2 separate regions of the Homo sapiens genome follow, and region 2 is linked to region 1. Evidence: promoter capture Hi-C in 16 types of primary human blood cells and fetal thymus (Javierre and others, 2016). All regions are on one chromosome and are shown on one strand. Each heading gives the region's core, a stretch centred on a gene start or on the middle of the fragment in contact. The rest is flanking DNA. Distances are from core to core; before and after follow the strand shown. Region 1 holds the start of PSMA5 (proteasome 20S subunit alpha 5). Region 2 overlaps SARS1 (seryl-tRNA synthetase 1).

Region 1 (3,196 bases), core at 541-3,040:
CCAGCTACTCAGGACGCTGAGTCAGAGAATTGCTTAAACCCAGGCGGCAGGCCAGGCGCGGTGGCTCACTCCTGTAATCCCAGCACTTTGGGAGGCCAAGGCAGGTGGATCACGAGGTCAAAAGATCGAGACCATCCTGGCCAACATGGTGAAACCCTGTCTCTACTAAAAATACAAAAATTAGCTGGGAGTGGTGGCGCGCGCCTGTAGTCCCAGCTACTCGGGAGGCTGAGGCAGGAGAATCGCTTGAACCCAGGAGGCGGAGGTTGCAGTGAGCCGAGATCATGCCACTGCACTGCAGCCTGGCGACAGAGCGAGACTCCGTCTCAAAAACAAACAAAACCCAGGAGGGGGAGGTTGCAGTGAGCCAAGATCACGTCACTGCACTCCAGCCTGGGCCACAGAGCGAGACTGTCTCAAAAGAGTCTCCTATATGCGAGCAAGGAGCTTGATTTTGTCCATTGCTGTAGCACCAGCACCTAGAACAGTGCCTTGTTCACAGCAAGCACTCAAGCACATTAACTAAGAGAATAAAAAGGGATGTATTTTAGGCCGTCTTGGGAAGACAGAAAAATAAGTAACAAAGCAGTCAATACATATGTTAAGTAAATGGCCACAAAATTTAATAAATGCCTTCTGATAAGCATAACAATTTCTATCATACACACCCTAACTCAAAATTATGTCACCCGAAGATGATTCTCTTCAATGTTCTGGAAGTTAAATATCGACCAACAAAGTCACTTTATAGGACAGTGGGGAAATATGTCAAAACTTCACACACATCTTCTACGAGTCAGTAAAAAAGATGAAAAAGTGGTAACTGCAGGTGGTAAAACTTCGACAGGATCAGCATATACTTGACAGGAAATGCAGCATCTCATACCACTCAGTACAAAGAAAATGTCTGCCTTCCCTGACTTTAAAAAAGAGTAGCTATGTAAAAACTTAACTGACGAAAACAGAAACTGAAAGTAAAAATGTCTACAGCATATATATGTACAACTTAATATTGTGAACATTTTCATACCACAAAAGTTTTTTAAAACTTGCTTTAAACTTTTAAAAAGTCAGAAAAAATTTTGGTCAATTGGAATCGGCATGATGAGAAATCTCTTGAAAACCATTCTAAATTCCAGTTCCTATAAAATCAGACTCCAGACAATATATCCAGCCAAAGCTACGACTGCCTTCGCGCTTCTGAAGAAACTATACACCGCAGCATGCCCTACTACAAACCAGTTGCTTTTTCTTCCAGGAAGCACGTTTAACTTTTTGTTTGTTTGTTCAAGGCAGTCATACTAGGCACGAAAAGATGAACGGAGCAAAGAGTGACCCTTGGCCTTCTCCGGGTTCAAGGTAGGAGTTCCGGCTCCTCACGCCTTCTTTACCAAGCACCAGCCGGAGCTTCTCGCTTCCGCACCGAGTTAGGACCCAGGGGTGACTCAGCGGTAGGACAAGTGCCGCCGATGTGGTCTAGCTTGGGGAAGGACGGCGGGCGCCTGAGGAGGGCATAACATCCCCAGGTCCGGCCAGTCTCGGGTTCCTGGGGAGCCCCATGACACGGCAGAACCCAGGCCGCGCGGCCAGGTCCCGGGCCTGCCCACCCATAATTCCCACCCGACGTCCCCCAGCTGCACGGACCTGTCGTACTCAGACCGGGTAAGAAACATGGCGAGGGTAGGAGGAGGCAGCGGCTACGCGGGGATTCTGAGGACCAACACGACTCCACCGGCACCCAACTCACCGGCAGCCAACTCACCCACACGGCCGCAGTACTAAGGACCAACTGCGCGTGCGACCGCGACCTCTTTAGCCCGCCCTCCTGTGCCTGCTTCCTATTGGCTGGTAGTAGTTCCCGCCTAGGTGATTGGGCCAACGCGCTTCCTCACGAGGGCTTGGTTGGTCCGGAGGAGGAGGAGGACCAGGGAGGTACTTCCGCCTTAAATCGCGGGTGGTTGCTAGGGACGATAGGCACCCAAGGCGTGTAGTGAGTTCGCCTTGTAGAGAAGATGTGAGCCCGCCCCAAGACTGGCAATTGGAAAGGCTTGCATGCAGAGCTGGGTTGTCTGAACCCTGACATAATAGGTCCCTCGCCGGCTCCCGTAATCCCAGCTAGAGGACTTTGGTCCCGTTTCCGGCAAGGCCACCACCTGACTTCTCTTCGCAGGATTCCCTCTCTTAGGGTTCCTCCACGGTGTTCTCCATGCCCGGTCGAGGGCTCCAGGACTTTGGGCGGTAATGAGTCGGCTACAGTGGGTCTGAGCCGGCGCCGCGGACGAGTCCCTTCGTTTCAGCCAGTTTGGCTCGTTTATTGAGAAAAGTGGGGGGCGAGGGGTTAGTATGTAAGAAAGTCTTAAAGTTTCCACATGGTTAAGGTAATTTTATCAACTCTTTCTTGCACCCCTCCCCCTAGTACAGGTTTCAGACCTAAATAACCTAGAGTTCAGGATCCAGACTTCAAAATATTCACTGCTTTTTCTGTTGTTTGTGAAAAATAAGTGTTTTCTTTGAGCCCAGATCGTGCTATTGCACTCCAGCCTGGGCAACAGCCAAACCCTATCCGAAAAAAAAAAAAAAAAAAAAAGCGCTTTCTTTTTCGACGCTTCTTGCTTCCCTTCAATAAGTTGCTTGAGGAGCAACTTTGCAGCTTCGTAATAACACTGTAATTCAAGTATTTGTTCAAGAAAGGCAAGTAAGAAGTCTTGGCACGGGGGTGGGGAATATAGGGAAATGTTGGTCAAATGATACAAAGTTTCAGTCAGAGAAGGTGGATGAGTTCTATAGTTAATAATCATATATTGTGTACTTGAAATTGTGAAGAGGGTACACCTTAAATGTTCTCACCACAGGAAAGTATGTGAGATGATGGATTATGTTGATTAGCTTCATTTAATTATTTGCAGTGTGTGTGTGTATATATATGTATATCAAAACGTCACGTTGTATACCATAAACATGAACAATTTCTATTTGTCACTTACACCTTAAAGCTGGAGTCGGGGGAAAGAAATCATTTATCAGGCAGTATATGCTGGAAAGGGAAATGCCAGCATCTCATTTCCAGTTGTTAATGTGATACCACTAGTCAAGTCCTTAACCTCTCAAGGCCTGTATCTCTCCAGTAAAGTTCATTCTTGGTCCTAGATTAGGTTTGTAAGTCACCAAGGCATTTCAAAGGTGCAGGAAATGTAAA
Region 2 (3,215 bases), core at 350-2,849, 210 kb before region 1:
CTGCTGCAAACCCCAAGAATTTTATCCTCCCTCAAAAAGTGCTATCCTGAGTGGTTTTTTTTTTCTTTTTACTGTACATTGAAAATTGAAGTTGTTGTTTCCTTTTTTTTTAATTTGAGACAAGGTCTCACTGTGTCACCCAGGCATGATCACAGCTCACTGCAGCCTCAATCTCCCCAGGCTCAGATGATCCTCCTGCCTTAGACTTCTGACTAGCTGAGACTACAGGCGCAATGCCACCATGCCTGGCTAATGTGTGTATTTTTTGTAGAGATGGAGTTTCGTCATGTTGCCTAGGCTGGCCTCAAACTCCTGGCCTCAAGCGATCCTCCCACCTCGGCCTCCCAAAGTGTTGGGATTACAGGCATGAGTCACCATGCCCAGGCTAAAGCTGTTATTTCCTCATAACCTTTACTGCACATGTTTTAAAACAGGTCCTTATCATTGTTTGCCCCAGCAACTGGAATAGCTTTCTATCTGCTTTCAATCTTAACCCAGTCTCACCAGGGCATATAATCTTTCTAGAATGCAAATCTGATCATTTTACTTGAAGGCTTAAGTTTTGCAGTGACATACTTTAGAGCAGCACTGTCTGATAGGAATAGAATGTTAGCTTCATGTATACAGATGCTCCTTGACTTAGGATGGGTTTATGTCCCAATAAATCCACCATAAGTTGAAAATATTGTAAGTAAAAAATGCATGAAATACACATACCCTACTGAATATCATAGCTTAGCCAAGCCTACCTTAAATGTGCTCAGAACACTGATGTTAACCTACAGTTGGGAAAAATCATCTTACACAAACCCTATTTTATAATAAAGTGTGAATATCTCATGTAATTTATTACTATTGATCATAAAGTTTAAGCATTATAAGTTGGCGATAGTCTGTAATTGTTAATTTGTTTGTATCCAATATAAAAAATATAAAGAGAAACAGATGAAATTAATTTTAGTAATACATTTTATTTAACCTAGTCTTGTATACCCAAAAGTTATATATATATAAATATATATATAATTATTATTATTATTTTTAGACAGCGTCTTGTTCTGTTGCCTAGGCTGGAATGCAGTGGCATGATCACAGCTCACTGCAGCCTGGACCTCCTGGGCTCAACTGGTCCTCCCACCTCAACCTTCTAAGTAGCTGGGACCACAGGTGTGCACCACCATGCCCAGCTAATTTTTAATTTTTTGTAGAGACAGAGTCTCACTTTGTTGCCCAGGCTGGTCTCGAATTCCTGGACTCAAGTGATCCTCCCACTTCGACCTCCCACACTGCTGGGATTACAGGTGTGAACCACCACGCCCAGCCCCGAAATTATATTTTCAACACATAATCAGTATTTTTAAATTACTGAAACTAGCCCGGTGCGGTGACTCACTCCTGTAATCCCAGCACTTTGGGAGGCCGAGGCAGGCAGATCACAAGGTCAGGAGATCGAGACCATCCTGGCTAACACGGTGAAACCCCATCTCTACTAAAAATACAAAAATAATTAGCCGGGCATGGTGGGGGGCGCCTGTAGTCCCAGCTACTCGGGTGGCTGAGGCAGGAGAATGGCGTGAACCCGGGAGGCAGAGCTTGCAGTGAGCTGAGATCATGCCACTGCACTCCAGCCTGGGTGACACAGAGAGACTCTGTCTCCAAAAAAAAAAAAAAAAAAAAAAAATTAGCCAGGCGTGGTGGCGGGCGCCTGTAATCCCAGCTACTTGGGAGGCCGAGGCAGGAGAATTGCTTGAACCCGGGAAGCGGAGGTTGCAGTGAGCTGAGATCGTGCCATTGCACTCCAGCCTGGGGGACAAGGTGAGACTTCATCTGAAAAAAAAAAAAAATTACTGAAACTACTGAGATATTTTACTTTTTTTTTTTTTTTTTTGGTACAAGTCCTCAAACTCCAAAGTATGTTTTACACTTAAAGCACCACTCTGTTCAGGTGCTCATTTCAAATTTCAAATGCTCATAGTCACATGGTATTAAAAGCTACTATATTGGACAGTACAGCCTTAAAGCATAAAAATCCAAATTCCTGAACACAATTTACAAAGTCCCCCATGCCTTCCTGGCCTCGCTGTCTACCACTTCCCACATAGGGCCTCCCGCTCTTTGCTCTAGCTTATTGCTACTCCTAGACTCTTTCACACTTCTGTGACTGTTGCCTCTTCCTGGAATGCTCCTTATCAGGGTGTGCCACTCCCACTTCCAACGGCCCTCTTTGGCACTCAACTACTGTTGTAGTGCCACCTCATTTATTGAGTGCTCTCCTTATATTATCTTACAAATCTCTTACAGCATTTATACTATTCCTGTATATACCCTTCAAAAACTTATTTTTATTGACATAGATACAGTAAAGTACACAAATCTTAGTGTACAGGTTGATGAGTTTTCTAAATATATACACCAATGTAACACTTAGATCAAAATATAAGACATTTAGGCCGGGCGTGGTGGCTCACACCTGTAATCCCAGCACTTTGGGAGGCCGAGGCGGGCGGATCATGAGGTCAGGAGATCGAGACCATCCTGGCTAACACGGTGAAACCCCATCTCCACTAAAAATTCAAAAAATTAGCCGGGTGTGGTGGCGGGCGCCTGTAGTCCCAGCTACTTGGGAGGCTGAGGCAGGAGAATGGCATGAACCCAGGAGGCGGAGCTTGCAGTGAGCCGAGATCACACCACTGCAGTCCAGCCTGGGCGATAGAGCAAGACTCTCCATATATATATATATATATATATATATAGTGTACATATACAGTATATATATACACTATATATTTATATACACACTATATATATATATATATATGACATTTACAGCACACCAGCAGATTGCCTTATGCCACCTCCCAGTCAGCCCCTCCTCCAAAAATAATAGTATTCTTACCTCCATCACCATAAATTCCTTTGCCTGATTTTGAACTACATATAAATGGACTTATGTAGTATATACTTTTGCATATGGCTTCTTTCTTTTTTTTTTTTGAGACAGATTCTTGCTCAGTCACCCAGGCTGGTGTGCAGTGGCGTGATCTCAGCTCACTGCAACCTCCGCCTCCCGGGCTCACACCATTCTCCTGCCTCAGCCTCCCGAGTAGCTGGGATGACAGGCACCCACCACCATGCCTGGCTAATTTTTTTTGTATTTTATTAGAGCTGGGGTTTCACCATGTTAGCCAGGATGGTCTTGATCTCCTGACCTTGTG

Evidence for each region. The method cuts DNA at HindIII sites, captures the fragments that hold promoters and counts their contacts. A CHiCAGO score of 5 or more calls a contact.
Region 2: a fragment that was not itself captured here is called in contact with the fragment with the promoter of PSMA5 in region 1 in 2 of 17 cell types (fetal thymus and neutrophils); the score reaches 5.9 in fetal thymus.

The regions. Positions count from the first base shown.
Region 1 is chr1:109,424,658-109,427,853 of GRCh38, forward strand. It overlaps PSMA5 (proteasome 20S subunit alpha 5), which reads right to left and starts at 1,791. Exons shown (of 9, transcript NM_002790.4): 1 at 1,645-1,791. The coding sequence starts at 1,673. RefSeq lists enhancers at 1,854-2,785, 2,292-2,351. The HindIII fragment of the contact is 5,034 bases long and covers 1-3,196 here.
Region 2 is chr1:109,216,537-109,219,751 of GRCh38, forward strand. The region is part of intron 1 of SARS1 (seryl-tRNA synthetase 1); the gene reads left to right. Among named protein-coding and RNA genes, the nearest start is that of SARS1, 4.2 kb to the left of the region's middle. The HindIII fragment of the contact is 3,724 bases long and covers 1-3,215 here.